Linked DNA regions of Homo sapiens: regions 1, 2 and 4 are each linked to region 3. Evidence: promoter capture Hi-C in 16 types of primary human blood cells and fetal thymus (Javierre and others, 2016). All regions are on one chromosome and are shown on one strand. The core of a region is centred on a gene start or on the middle of the fragment in contact, and the rest is flanking DNA. Distances in the headings are between cores, read along the strand shown.

Region 1 (2,830 bases), core at 128-2,627, 440 kb after region 3:
GCGATCCTCTCACCTCAGCCTACTGAGTAGTTGGGACTACAGGCGTAAGCTGCCACGCTAAGATGATTTCTGTACTTTTTGAAGAGATGGGGTTTCATCATGTTGCCCAGGCTGGTCTCGAACTCCTGGCCTCAAGTGATCCGCCTGGCTTGGCCTCCCAAAGTGTTGGGATTATAGCCATGAGCCACCATGCCTGGCCTCTATTTACTTTTTTCAGCTGTGGCTCACATTGTATCTCTATTTTTCAGGATCCTTCCAGAGCAGAGGTGGGAAAACTACAGCCTGCAGGTCATGTCCAGCCTACTGCCTGTTTCTTAAAATTTTATTGGAACATGACCATGCCCATTCATTTGCTTACTGCCTCTGAATGCTTTTGTGCTATAATGGCAAAGCTGAGTTGTTGTGAAGGAGACAGTATAGCCTGCAACACTAGGACATTTATCATCTGGCCCTTTACAGAAAGTTTGGCTGGCCCCTTATCTAGAGGGCAGGGCCTGTGTGGGGGTATCTCTCTCCCCACAGCACCCAGCACAGTGCAGGGGGCACCCGTGTAGTCAGTGAAGAGAACCTGCATTCGGGCAGCACAAACTGGCCTAAGTTTGAATTTGGGTTGGCCTCCCACTTGCTATGTGGCCTTGGTGAGTTATAAGCTTTCTCTGGGTTTCAGTCTTTCCTTTTCTAAAATGGGGCACTGGCCACTTTAAGGGAAGTGAGATGACACAGGTAAAGTGTGAGTTAACATGCCTGGCTCACAGCAGGAATCCATTGACACTGGCTGGATAAAAGACAGCAATTTCATTAAAATGCTGAATAATCATTCTCCTCTTGGATTGGGTGTGTTATACTCAAAACAACTACCATATTTACATCCTAAAATGAAATGAAATCAAATGAAACTTCTTAGCAACAGCAGTGCATTAATAATAACCACCAGCAAGCAATGGGGAGGAAGAAAGAGGCAAGCCTTTCTAACACTAAAGCACTGGCGGATGATGAGTCCGCCTCATCCCTTTCCTGCCCCTCCTGCAGCCCACCTTTGGACAATTCCCGGTTCATTAACACTGGCACTAGAAGAATAAGCAGAGGGGAGAGAAAAAGCCTCGAACCAAAGACGTACTAAAACTGAACCCATTGACATCAACGAGGTTTGGAAGGGCCCATATAAGTGCAATTCAAAAGACAGTCCCAGCCAGCAGCATCAATGTCACTGGGAGTTTGTTAGACACGCAGATTCTTCAGCCCAATGGAATTAGGACAATTTGCATTAGGAGACCCTAGGTGATGGCATGTGGCATTCACCTTGGAAAAGTGCTGGATTAGAATCCATTTATTCATGCTCTCTTCACTTCCCCCTCCCCCTCCACTGATAAACAGGGGTGGTTATATCTACTTTCAATAGATGGTTCCTGACTCCTTCAAAGTAATAGGCCTGGCATAGCCACTGCAACTCCAGGCCCCGCCCCCAAGGGTCTTGGTGCAGGCAGAGTGCATAGCCTAAGCTGCGTTCCTGATTCATTTGCAGTCGGGTGGGGCATTCTTTTTCCAATAGAGAGCCTCGTTCGTACTTAGCCATCCTCCTAAGGTGAGGACTGGGTGCTGATAACCATTCAGGAAACCCACGTGTGTGGAATCTGCCATTTGTCAAGTGCTTTAGGCGGGGTTCTTACAGGGGAAATGCAGCCAGAAGCAGCTTCATTTCGACCACAGGTGACACCAGCTCTAGCTAGCTCTAGCCTAGTCCACAATGCACGTAGTCTGCCTGGGGAGCCCGCGACGGAAGTTGCCAAAGTAGTAACTACAATATGGTGTATTCTGATTAATCTGCTCTTCCTAGTATTAGGATGCCCATACGTCCCAGTCCTGGAGTAATTATTCATAGTACTCTCAAAAGAACCCAACTTGGGCAATAAATTACTGTACATGGTCAACACACCTAGTACGGGGGGTGGGAGACAGAGTGGTCTAGTAAGGGGCCCATACAGCTCCAGCACAGACCACAGGGCATCTGGAAGAAGACTAAGAATACTATTTGTAGTAAGTGGGAGGGAGCAAACTGGTCATTCATGAAGATGTTTCCCAAGAGTCTGCATGTGCGTGATAGCACACAAGCTTTAGGATTTGCTGTCTCTGTTTCTCAAGGAGCTTCCCATCCAGGAGAGAATGTGGGTGTGCCATGGGGCATGAGAGGAAGGGAACGGCACAATTGAGTTGGGGAAAAGCAGTCAGATTGGCTGGAATCAACTGAAGAGGCAGGAGATAGAGCAGGATGTGTAGGTGAGGGGCCCTGAATGACAACCAAGGCATGATCAGAGGCTGGGTCCTGACACAATCCAGGCGATCACTTGGGAGGTCAGCCCTTTGGAGGTCAGTTGGCGGCAGCGCTGTTCACTGGTTGAAGGAGGACTAGAGGCAGGGAGACCAGGGAGAAGGCTACACAGTGCAGGCATGAGGCAAGCAGAGAGCAAACCAGGGTTGTGAAAGGGAAATGCAGGCACAGGATGCAAGAGGCCTCTCAAAGAACTGATGACAAGTTAGAATGAGGGCCAAAGAAGGTAAATTAAAAATGACCCCAAATGCTCTAATTTTGAGAAGATTCAAGCTTAGGTATTTAGGGGTGAAGTGCTATCATGTCTGCCACTAACTTAGCAGGAGTTAGTACCAGACATAATTCAGGAGGAAATATATTTACATAAGCATACAGATAAGGCAAATATGGCAGGATGTTAACAACTGCTGACTCATAATGGTTGGGGGTTAGCAATTACTGGCTTTCAACATTTTGGTATGGTCAATATTTTTTCCTATTAAAAAGTTGGGTCTTGGGTTCAGA
Region 2 (2,846 bases), core at 268-2,767, 330 kb after region 3:
TGCTAAAGATACGTAGAAAAAAAATCTGTTTTTAGTGTCTTTTAAAGCTATGATCGTCCACGACTAAAGCTGACCCTGTCTGCTGCCTCAGGCATTGTGACTTAAGGGAGAGCTCATTTGATGTGCCTTCCAGTAACGAAATCTGATACCAGAGAAAAACTAAATAAGATCTCTTTTGAGGACAATGGGGTGTTTGCTGGTGGTTCCTCACTTCTTCCTGGATATACTGAAGCAGGAAAGGTGAGGCTCTAAGGTTGTCCACAGGAAAGCTGAAAAAGCCTTGTATTTCCTTTTGATGAAGATCCATAGTGATAATGTGAGTTAAACCTGAAATTTTAAAACAAAAAATTACAAAGTTCACCCCTACAGGTAAATGGCTACAGTGGACCTAAACTAGATGCTCAACTCCTGCTTCCTACCAGCAGACTGAAGACGGGGTACTGTGATTAAGCACTGCAGTCACAGGCTTGATTGTTAACCTTAATAAAGCCTTAATGTAGAGAAGGCTACAACCTTCCACATGGACAAAGAACTAAAGCTAAGAAAGTGGGAATTATTGACTTTTGGCTTGGTCCAGAAAATTGAGAAAAGAATAATGTGGCAGAAGCAAAAATATGAATATGGAATTAATACCGAAGAGATGGAAAAAACAGTAAGGCCTTGATTACAGAATCTTAAAAGAAAGGATAAAGAACTGTAGCGAAGGCAAAAAGTAGCAAGAACACAAACGCAAAGTAATATACATATTAGAAGAAAAGAAACTCATATAACACAAAGATATTGAAGCTTAGAATAATTTCTGTATGTAACAAAGAATGTTTCAAGTATTCTTATAGAAAAACAATGAAGAGATACTCTTATAATCAAGAGTACTGAAGAGGAAAAGGTACATATATATAAACACATTGCAAATGGTCAAAGGTCACAGCAAAACTTCCAGGGTGTAGAACCAGTATTACTTGTTCTTTCCAGAAACACTATAGTTTTTTGGAGAGGATGAAATTCACATACAGTTGACCATCTGGATCTATGGGTTCCACGTGTGGATTCAACGAAACACAGACTGAAAAGGTAGTTAGGCCTACAATGGTTGTGTCTGTACTGAGCAGGTATGAAACTTTTTTCTCATCATTATTCCCTAAACAAGACAGCATAACAACAATTTATATAGTGTTTATATGGTATTAGGTATTTATAAATAATCTACAGATGACTGTGTTGGTTATATGCAAATACTATGGCATTTTATATGGAAGACTTGAGTATCTTTGGGTTTTTGTATCTGCTGAGGAGCCGGGGAAGCGGGAGATGGGTTCCTGGAACCAATCCTATAAGGACATTGAGGGAGGACCATACATTTCTTTCCGAGGACCCAAATATACGTTAAAGTTTTAGAACAGACATCAGATGAATAGAAACCCAATTGTAAAATATTACATTGATTTACAGGCCAGAAAGCGTGCCCCCGCCACACAAGGAGAATAAAGCAATGAAAATGAGCCACTATGTAGAAAGGCAAGGGTGGGGGAGAGGGAGTAAAAGAAAATCCAGCTTGAATACTATGAACAAAAATGGAATTTAGCTAACAAAGCAGATATAGAAATCTAGACCTGAAGATCAAAAGATCACATAAGAATGCCAAGACTGCCAGCTAAGAATTTAGCGATGACAAGATGAAATAGAAAATATGTGACAGATGACAGAGAAGAGAAGACACTAAAGCAATGGTATTCTAAAGTAGGACAAAGCGAATAAGGGAAAAAAAAGAATTTCTAACCGAGCTCACATATCCTTAGCCAAAACTGTTCAAAAGGAAACAAACACTCAGATCCCAGATTGGATATCTGAGGTATGAGCTAAGTCCAACTAGGAAAGAGCCCTAAAGGATCATGCTGGAACCCCAGGGCCCCCGCGCACACTCACCTGCTTTCGCCAGCATGGATGCTAGCAGCTTGCACACAATGGAACCCCTCTTCCTCATCTTGCTCTGCTTGCTGTAGGGGAAGTAGGGGATGACCCCAATAATGTTCCTGGCACAGGCAGTCTTCAGTGCGTAAGCCATGATGAGCAACTCCATCACAGCTGTATTCACATCTCTGAAACAGTCAAAGTTTGTATTTGGGGATTAATTCCATGTATCAACCCTAGAAAAGATCTTGACTTTATCAACTTAACATGGGCTGCCCAGATGGGTGTTGTGGGAATTTTACCATCACACTAGCTTACAATGGCACCTCATGAAGGCAGGGGAAGCTTTCTGACTTTTTGTAGCTGAGTAAGCCCTAGCTTTCATCTGAGGTTACTCCTATTCACAGCACAGTTAACCCACCCTCACATTTGCCTGGGTCTCCTGTGTCATACCCCGTTACTGCAGTGACATCTGAAGCAACTGCTGGTGACCAGAGTTACCCAACACCTGCTGGCAGCCTCCCAGGGATTTGGGCTTAGGCCAGCTTGAATGCCAAGGGAAACCCAACTGCCCTTCCATTTAGCTGCCATTAACAGAAAGATTTGGTCTCTTTCCATTGAGTGTGGGGAGGTCTTGGAATATAATTTTTTTTTTTTTTTTTTGAGACGGAGTCTCGCTGTCGCCCAGGTTGGAGTGCAGTGGCGCGATCTCAGCTCACTGCAGGCTCCGCCCCCCGAGGTTCACGCCATTCTCCTGCCTCAGCCTCCCGAGTAGCTGGGACTACAGGCGCCCGCCACCTCGCCCGGCTAATTTTTTGTATTTTTAGTAGAGACGGGGTTTCACCATGTTAGCCAGGATGGTCTTCATCTCCTGACCTTTTGAGATGAAGTCTCACTCTGTCGCCCAGGCTGGACTGCAGTGGTGTGATCTCAGTTCA
Region 3 (2,857 bases), core at 69-2,568:
TTCATCATGTTGGCCAGGCTGGTCTTGAACTCCTGACCTCAAGTGTTCCACATGCCTTGGCCTCCCAAAGTGCTGAGATTACAGGTGTGAGCCAGTTCACCTGTCAAAAGAAAGAAAATTTTTAAAAAGTCTCTCGGAGATGTCTTTCCTGTTTGGTGCCACCTGAATAGTGGCAAACCTTTCCATTATGTATCAGGTCACCACCGCATCTGCTAGAAGCCCCCCTCGTCCAGGGTGGGATGACCTGCTCCTATAAAGCCAAACTTACCGGGAGCTCAGTCTCTTGGATTTTTAAAATATGGGTGTCTCTTTTCCCCGGTTCCTGATGACATTGTGTCCCAAGGTGCCAAGGGGGCCTTTCCCTCAGTCCAGAGGGGTTTTCTGACCACCTGCTAAGTTCCAGACACGGGCCGACTGTGCATGACAGGCCCACGGTTCTAGGCCCAAATACTCAGTTGCCTTTGCCCCATATGCTGTTATTGTCCACATCACTTGCTGCCAAAACCCAGGACTGAGCTGTGGAGGGAACAGCTGGAATGCACCTTGGAGGACGTTGTTGACACGCCGCTCAGTCGCCGTTCGTGCCCTGGTGTTTGTCTTGCAGACAGAGGCTCCGTGGTGAAGGCGCGCGTGCTGACCTGTGTGGAGGGGATGAACCTGCCCTTGTTGGAACAAGCCATCCGGGAGCAGAGACTGTACAAGCAGGAGCGGGGCGGCAGCCAGTAGGAAACAGCAGCCTAGCAACACCCTCACCTGCTTCAGAGCCCGAACCCTCTGGAGCTGCAGGAGCCCGGGAGAGCACAGACGCCTCCCCAGCGACGGCCTTGTCTGGAGCTCGAAAGCCGAGGGGCGGGTGATGAATCCAGCCCCTTCCCCTACTTTGGGATTGGCTCAGCAATGAGAACCCAGAAAGCATGCCATAAATCCGACAGCCCCACCCCAGGAGACTGCAGGTGGCCGAGCTTGGGCGCCGGGGCCGTGCTTGGTGTGGGGCCATGGAGGGTTCCAGAAGGTCCTGGTGAATAAAGGCCCAGGGGGCGTGCTCTTGAAGTGTGCTCGTGGTGCAGCGCCGGCGGGGGCCAGGAGGGGGAGCTGCAACCCAGGCTGTGGGCTGCAGCCTCTCAGGGCTTCTGGTGAATTCTGGGCCTGGGGCCTCAGGGTAGGGCACCAGGGGCCCAGGGGCTGGGGTGGGGGGCCCAGGATGCAGGGGTCTGCCCCTGGCCAGGCTCTGCCTTCAGAGGAGGCTGAGCGTCGTCACACGGGCCGGGCTGAGGCCCTGGGCCCTGACCGTGCAGCCTAAGACAGGACTGTGGCTTTAAGACCCTCCTGACCCCTGACCTCTGCCCCCAGTGGCCCTGGCCCCTGGGCAGCCCTTCCTGGCCGCCATGTGTACCCAGAGCCTGGGACTGGCTGGGCTGGGCAGTGACCCAGGTGGGAAAGGGTGGTCTTGCCCTCTAAGGCCCGGCACAAGTGAGAGGCCTGGGGGTCCATGTTGGGCTGGGCTGGGCGAGGGGTGGTCTCTGACTTCCTGGGGGTTCTGGCTGGGATGGGCAGGGGGCTGGGTGGGAGAGTGTGGGCCCTGCCCTCCGAGGCCGGGCATGGGCGAGAAGCCTGGGGGTCCTGGCTGAACTGGGCTGGGTGAAGGGGGCCCCCTGACCCCCTTGGGGTCCGGGCTGGGCTGGGTGAGGGGCGGTTTCCGACCCCCAGCCAGGTTCCCAGGCAGGATGAGCTGGGGTTGGGGTGGCTAGGCCGTGGGCCTTGGGAGCTGGGCAGTCTGGGCTGGGCTGGGCTGGGCAGGGCGCCACATGGAAGCTGGAGGAGCAACGGGAGCGCTGGGCGTGGGGTGCAAATTGCCCGGTGCCTTCTGTTTCCCAGGCAGCTCTGTGGCCATGGATATGTTCCAGAAGGTAGAGAAGATCGGAGAGGGCACCTATGGGGTGGTGTACAAGGCCAAGAACAGGGAGACAGGGCAGCTGGTGGCCCTGAAGAAGATCAGACTGGATTTGTGAGTGCTGGGACGGCCCCTGAGTTACCCACCCTGGGCCATCACAACCTGGGCGCTCCCTGATCCGTTCCCTCTTTCCTGGAGTCCACGTTTAACTCCTCTGGGTGCTGCCCAGCAGCCCTTACCTGTCCTCTCCCCAGTTCACTGCCTTCTGACCAGCCTTTGCCGGGGCCCTGACTGTGGAGTTTGGTGGATGACGTGCCAAGGAGCACAGGTCTCCATTGCCGGGGCCCTGGTCATTCTGTGGGGTTAAGGAGAAGCCGATCCCCCTGGCTGGAAGTGCCCTTCTTGGCCCAAGTCTCTGCCCACGGCTGTGCCCTTGTTTCTTGCAGGGAGATGGAGGGGGTCCCAAGCACTGCCATCAGGGAGATCTCGCTGCTCAAGGAACTGAAGCACCCCAACATCGTCCGGTGAGTTGGGGATTGAGGTGGGGAAGCTGGGATGGCGAAGGTAGCATCCTGACTGCCATCTCCCTGTCAGACTGCTGGACGTGGTGCACAACGAGAGGAAGCTCTATCTGGTGTTTGAGTTCCTCAGCCAGGACCTGAAGAAGTACATGGACTCCACCCCAGGCTCAGAGCTCCCCCTGCACCTCATCAAGGTAGGGAAGGAAGGGCAGGGAAGGAGAGGTGACACCCCATCCCTGCCATCCCTGTCCACGCAGCACCTCCGCTCAGCTGGCTGCACCTCGCGCTCGTTTCTCCAGAGCTACCTCTTCCAGCTGCTGCAGGGGGTGAGTTTCTGCCACTCACATCGGGTCATCCACCGAGACCTGAAGCCCCAGAACCTGCTCATCAATGAGTTGGGTGCCATCAAGCTGGCTGACTTCGGCCTGGCTCGCGCCTTCGGGGT
Region 4 (2,889 bases), core at 369-2,868, 260 kb after region 3:
TTCTTTTCCTACCCCCACAATTCTCAAACACAGCCCTGAAGATCAAACTCTAATCCAGAAGATGGAAGCTCAGCACATACAAACAAATTTGGGGCCAGGCATGGTGGCTCACACCTGTAATCCCTGTGCTTTGGGAGGCTGAGGCAGGAGGATCACTTTAGTCCAGGAGTTCAAGACCAGCCTGGGCAACAATAGTGAGATCTCATCTCTACCAAAAATTCAAAAATTAGTCAGGCATGGTGGTGTGTGCCTGTAGTCCCAGCTACTCGAGAGGCTGAGGCAAGAGGATCGCTCGAAGTTACAGTGAGCCATGATCATGTCACTCTAGCCCTATCTAACAACCACCACCACCAAATTTTGGACTTTAAAGGGCTACCACTGAGAAACAGTATCTCTGTAGAAACACTCACTGTTTGTTATTGTTTGTTTTTATTTGGTAGAGATGGAGTCTGTGCTATGTTGCCCAAGCTGGTGTTGAACTCCCGGCCTCAAGTTATCCTCCTGTCTCGGCCTCCCAAAGTGCTGGGATTATAGGTGTAAGCCATCCCAACCCCAGACTCCACCCCTACTGCCACCCGTTGTTTTTTTAAAAGATGGTAGAAATTAAAGCTTCATCTTAGCTTTCGTGACAAGCAAGAGAAAAAAAAAAAAAGAAAATTAAAGCTTCAGTTAGGTCAACCGATTTAACAAGAAAAAATTCTTGACTTGGCATTTTGGCCACTGAGAAAGTCTCACTTTTTTCCTTGCATATTTCCTTGCATATCGTATTTATTGTACATAAATCTTGGCTTCCATCTTCAGAGAGCAAAGTCTTTGGTCTAAAAACTGAGAAAATACTGCTCGATCCTTGCGGTGGGTAGTGATTAGAAGAGGGCAGGACGCGGGTTCCTAGGGTGCAAGTAACGTTCTGTTAATTGATCTGGGTGTTCACTTGGTGAAAAGTCTGGAAGCTGTACCTGCGACATCGCACTTTCCTAATGTACGTTATATTTCAATAAAAGATTTTTTTAAATTGGACTGCTTGAAAGTTATTTTTAAAAATTACATGCTTTTGAGACTTGAGCAGCTGCAAAGGCTCTGTTTTCTATTTTGATCATTCTGTTTCTCGAGATGACCACATCTTTCAGAGGAAATGAGTCAAAGCCACTCTGTCTTGCTTTTCCAGCTGAGCATGTTCTGTTTCAATGAAGTAATGAATGAACTTGGCCGCACCACCCCCAAGCCTACAACAGCAAACAGAGGGCCCTCGGCCAATCAGCAGGCACTCCGGGTTTTCAAGTTGAGTTCAAACAGGACCACCGGAGGCCAATCAGAGTGCGCGGCCCCGCCCCGAACGCCCGGCCGTGACCAACCACGAGGCCGGATGAGCCAAAACACAGCGGCCGGCCAATGCTGGGGAGCCCCACGGCGCCGAGCTCCGCCAATGGGCGCGGCCGGGCGAAAAGAGAAACAGTGAGGGCCCCACAGGCCGCAGGATTCGAATCGAACGTCCTTACGGGAGCCGGGCGCTGGCGGAGCGGCGCCCCGGCCAATCAGCGGCAGTCCCCGAACGTTGGGCCGGCCCAGCCCCGCCCCGCGCTGTTGTTTGTGGTGTCGGCCGGGCCGCGGGAGTCGAACCACAACATTCGCCGGGCGGGCGGCGGCGGAGCGGGCGGCGGAGCGGCGGCAGCAGCGGTGAGCGCGAGCCCCGGAGCCCCGGGCGGCCGGCCTCCCGCGCCCGCGCAGCCCCGCGTCTGCGTCCGGCCGGAGACGCCGGGCCCCGCGCCGCGCCGCGCCATGTCGGTGAACATGGACGAGCTGCGGCACCAGGTCATGATCAACCAGTTCGTGCTGGCCGCGGGCTGCGCGGCCGACCAGGCGAAGCAGTTGCTGCAGGCGGCCCACTGGCAGTTCGAGGTGCGAGCCTGGCCGCCGCGGGGCCGGGCCGCGGGGGTCGGGGACGCCGGGCGGCGGCGGGGGCGGGGAGCGCTCCTGTTGTCGGCCCGGAAGGCGATCGGCGCCCGCGAGCGGGTCTTACGCGGGACCGGGGCCGGGACCGGCTCCCCTCTGCACGTGGGGCAGCCGAGGGTCGGGGGCCGCGGGCCGGGCGCGGAGGCGGGGAGAGCCGGTGGGGGGCCCAGCCGCTGCGTTTCCTGACTCCGCCTGGCCCGCCGTGTCACTGCCCTGTTTGTCCGCAGACCGCGCTGAGCACGTTCTTCCAAGAAACCAACATTCCCAACAGCCACCACCACCACCAGATGGTAAGCGGCGGCGGGCAGGGGCGCGGGCCGGGGCCGCTGTCAGCGCGGCGGTGACAGCCATGTTGCCGGGGAGCGCCGCGCCGCGAATGTAAACAAAGAGCCAAAATGTCTTCCAGGAAAGAGCGGCTCCCGGGCCGGCGCTGGCGCCTCCAACTTTGAGGCCCGCCTCCCGGGCTGCTGCTGCTTGGCCTCGGGACTGGTGCCCGGCACTGGTCCCTGGGGGGAAGCGGCGCCAAAGTTGGGGGGAGGGGGAGAGGGCCGGGGGCCTGGCGAGGGGCTCAGGAGCTGGGGGACCCCAGAGCCAGGGGATGGGGAGGGGGAGAGGGTGATGCCCGGACGTCTGGGGCACTGGGAAGCCCGCGCGAAGGGCCCAGGGAGGGCGATGGGGGTGCTTGTGTTTATGGGGACCCCCTCGTGCTGTTGAGTGGTTTCCCCCCTCCCCCTCCACACACACACACACCCAGCGCTACAGGGAACAGGAAAGGCATGAATCCACCCTGGCTCAGGAAGCCGGGCTCTACCCACAAAGATCTGTTCAACCTTCCGAAGCCCAAGGGGACTGGGAAGTTGGAAGGACATACATCCCCCAAGCCAGGAGGACACACAGATTTTGACCCAAGATAAGGCCAGGAATGTGTCTTTAATCTCT

Evidence for each region. The method cuts DNA at HindIII sites, captures the fragments that hold promoters and counts their contacts. A CHiCAGO score of 5 or more calls a contact.
Region 1: a contact is called between a fragment that was not itself captured here and the fragment with the promoter of CDK3 in region 3, in 1 of 17 cell types (erythroblasts). The highest score is 5.0, in erythroblasts.
Region 2: a contact is called between a fragment that was not itself captured here and the fragment with the promoter of CDK3 in region 3, in 5 of 17 cell types (naive CD4 T cells, naive CD8 T cells, M2 macrophages and 2 more). The highest score is 6.1, in naive CD4 T cells.
Region 4: a contact is called between the fragment with the promoter of UBALD2 here and the fragment with the promoter of CDK3 in region 3, in 1 of 17 cell types (endothelial precursors). The highest score is 5.1, in endothelial precursors.

Annotation. Positions count from the first base shown.
Region 1 is chr17:76,440,429-76,443,258 of GRCh38, forward strand. All of the region lies in intron 1 of UBE2O (ubiquitin conjugating enzyme E2 O), which reads right to left. Among named protein-coding and RNA genes, the nearest start is that of UBE2O, 11 kb to the right of the region's middle. RefSeq lists enhancers at 623-1,140, 2,565-2,684. The HindIII fragment of the contact is 1,459 bases long and covers 649-2,107 here.
Region 2 is chr17:76,330,340-76,333,185 of GRCh38, forward strand. It overlaps PRPSAP1 (phosphoribosyl pyrophosphate synthetase associated protein 1), which reads right to left. Exons shown (of 10, transcript NM_002766.3): 4 at 1,924-2,096; 5 at 212-327. Among named protein-coding and RNA genes, the nearest start is that of PRPSAP1, 22 kb to the right of the region's middle. The HindIII fragment of the contact is 1,467 bases long and covers 785-2,251 here.
Region 3 is chr17:75,999,537-76,002,393 of GRCh38, forward strand. CDK3 (cyclin dependent kinase 3) reads left to right here and starts at 1,319. Exons shown (of 8, transcript NM_001258.4): 1 at 1,319-1,431; 2 at 1,876-2,005; 3 at 2,338-2,415; 4 at 2,486-2,606; 5 at 2,712-2,857. The coding sequence starts at 1,890. TEN1 (TEN1 subunit of CST complex) reads left to right here. Exons shown (of 4, transcript NM_001113324.3): 4 at 605-1,050. The coding sequence ends at 726. TEN1-CDK3 (TEN1-CDK3 readthrough (NMD candidate)) reads left to right here. Exons shown (of 10, transcript NR_037709.1): 4 at 605-2,005; 5 at 2,338-2,415; 6 at 2,486-2,606; 7 at 2,712-2,857. LOC124904061 (a long non-coding RNA gene) reads right to left here and starts at 1,024. Exons shown (of 2, transcript XR_007065911.1): 1 at 269-1,024; 2 at 1-100. RefSeq lists an enhancer at 946-995 and a silencer at 1,126-1,205. The HindIII fragment of the contact is 39,600 bases long and covers 1-2,857 here.
Region 4 is chr17:76,263,730-76,266,618 of GRCh38, forward strand. UBALD2 (UBA like domain containing 2) reads left to right here and starts at 1,619. Exons shown (of 3, transcript NM_182565.4): 1 at 1,619-1,896; 2 at 2,178-2,240. The coding sequence starts at 1,777. It overlaps LOC105371896 (a long non-coding RNA gene), which reads right to left and starts at 1,352. Exons shown (of 6, transcript XR_007065913.1): 1 at 1-1,352. RefSeq lists enhancers at 1,022-1,071, 2,332-2,431 and silencers at 1,422-1,721, 2,022-2,161. The HindIII fragment of the contact is 2,310 bases long and covers 662-2,889 here.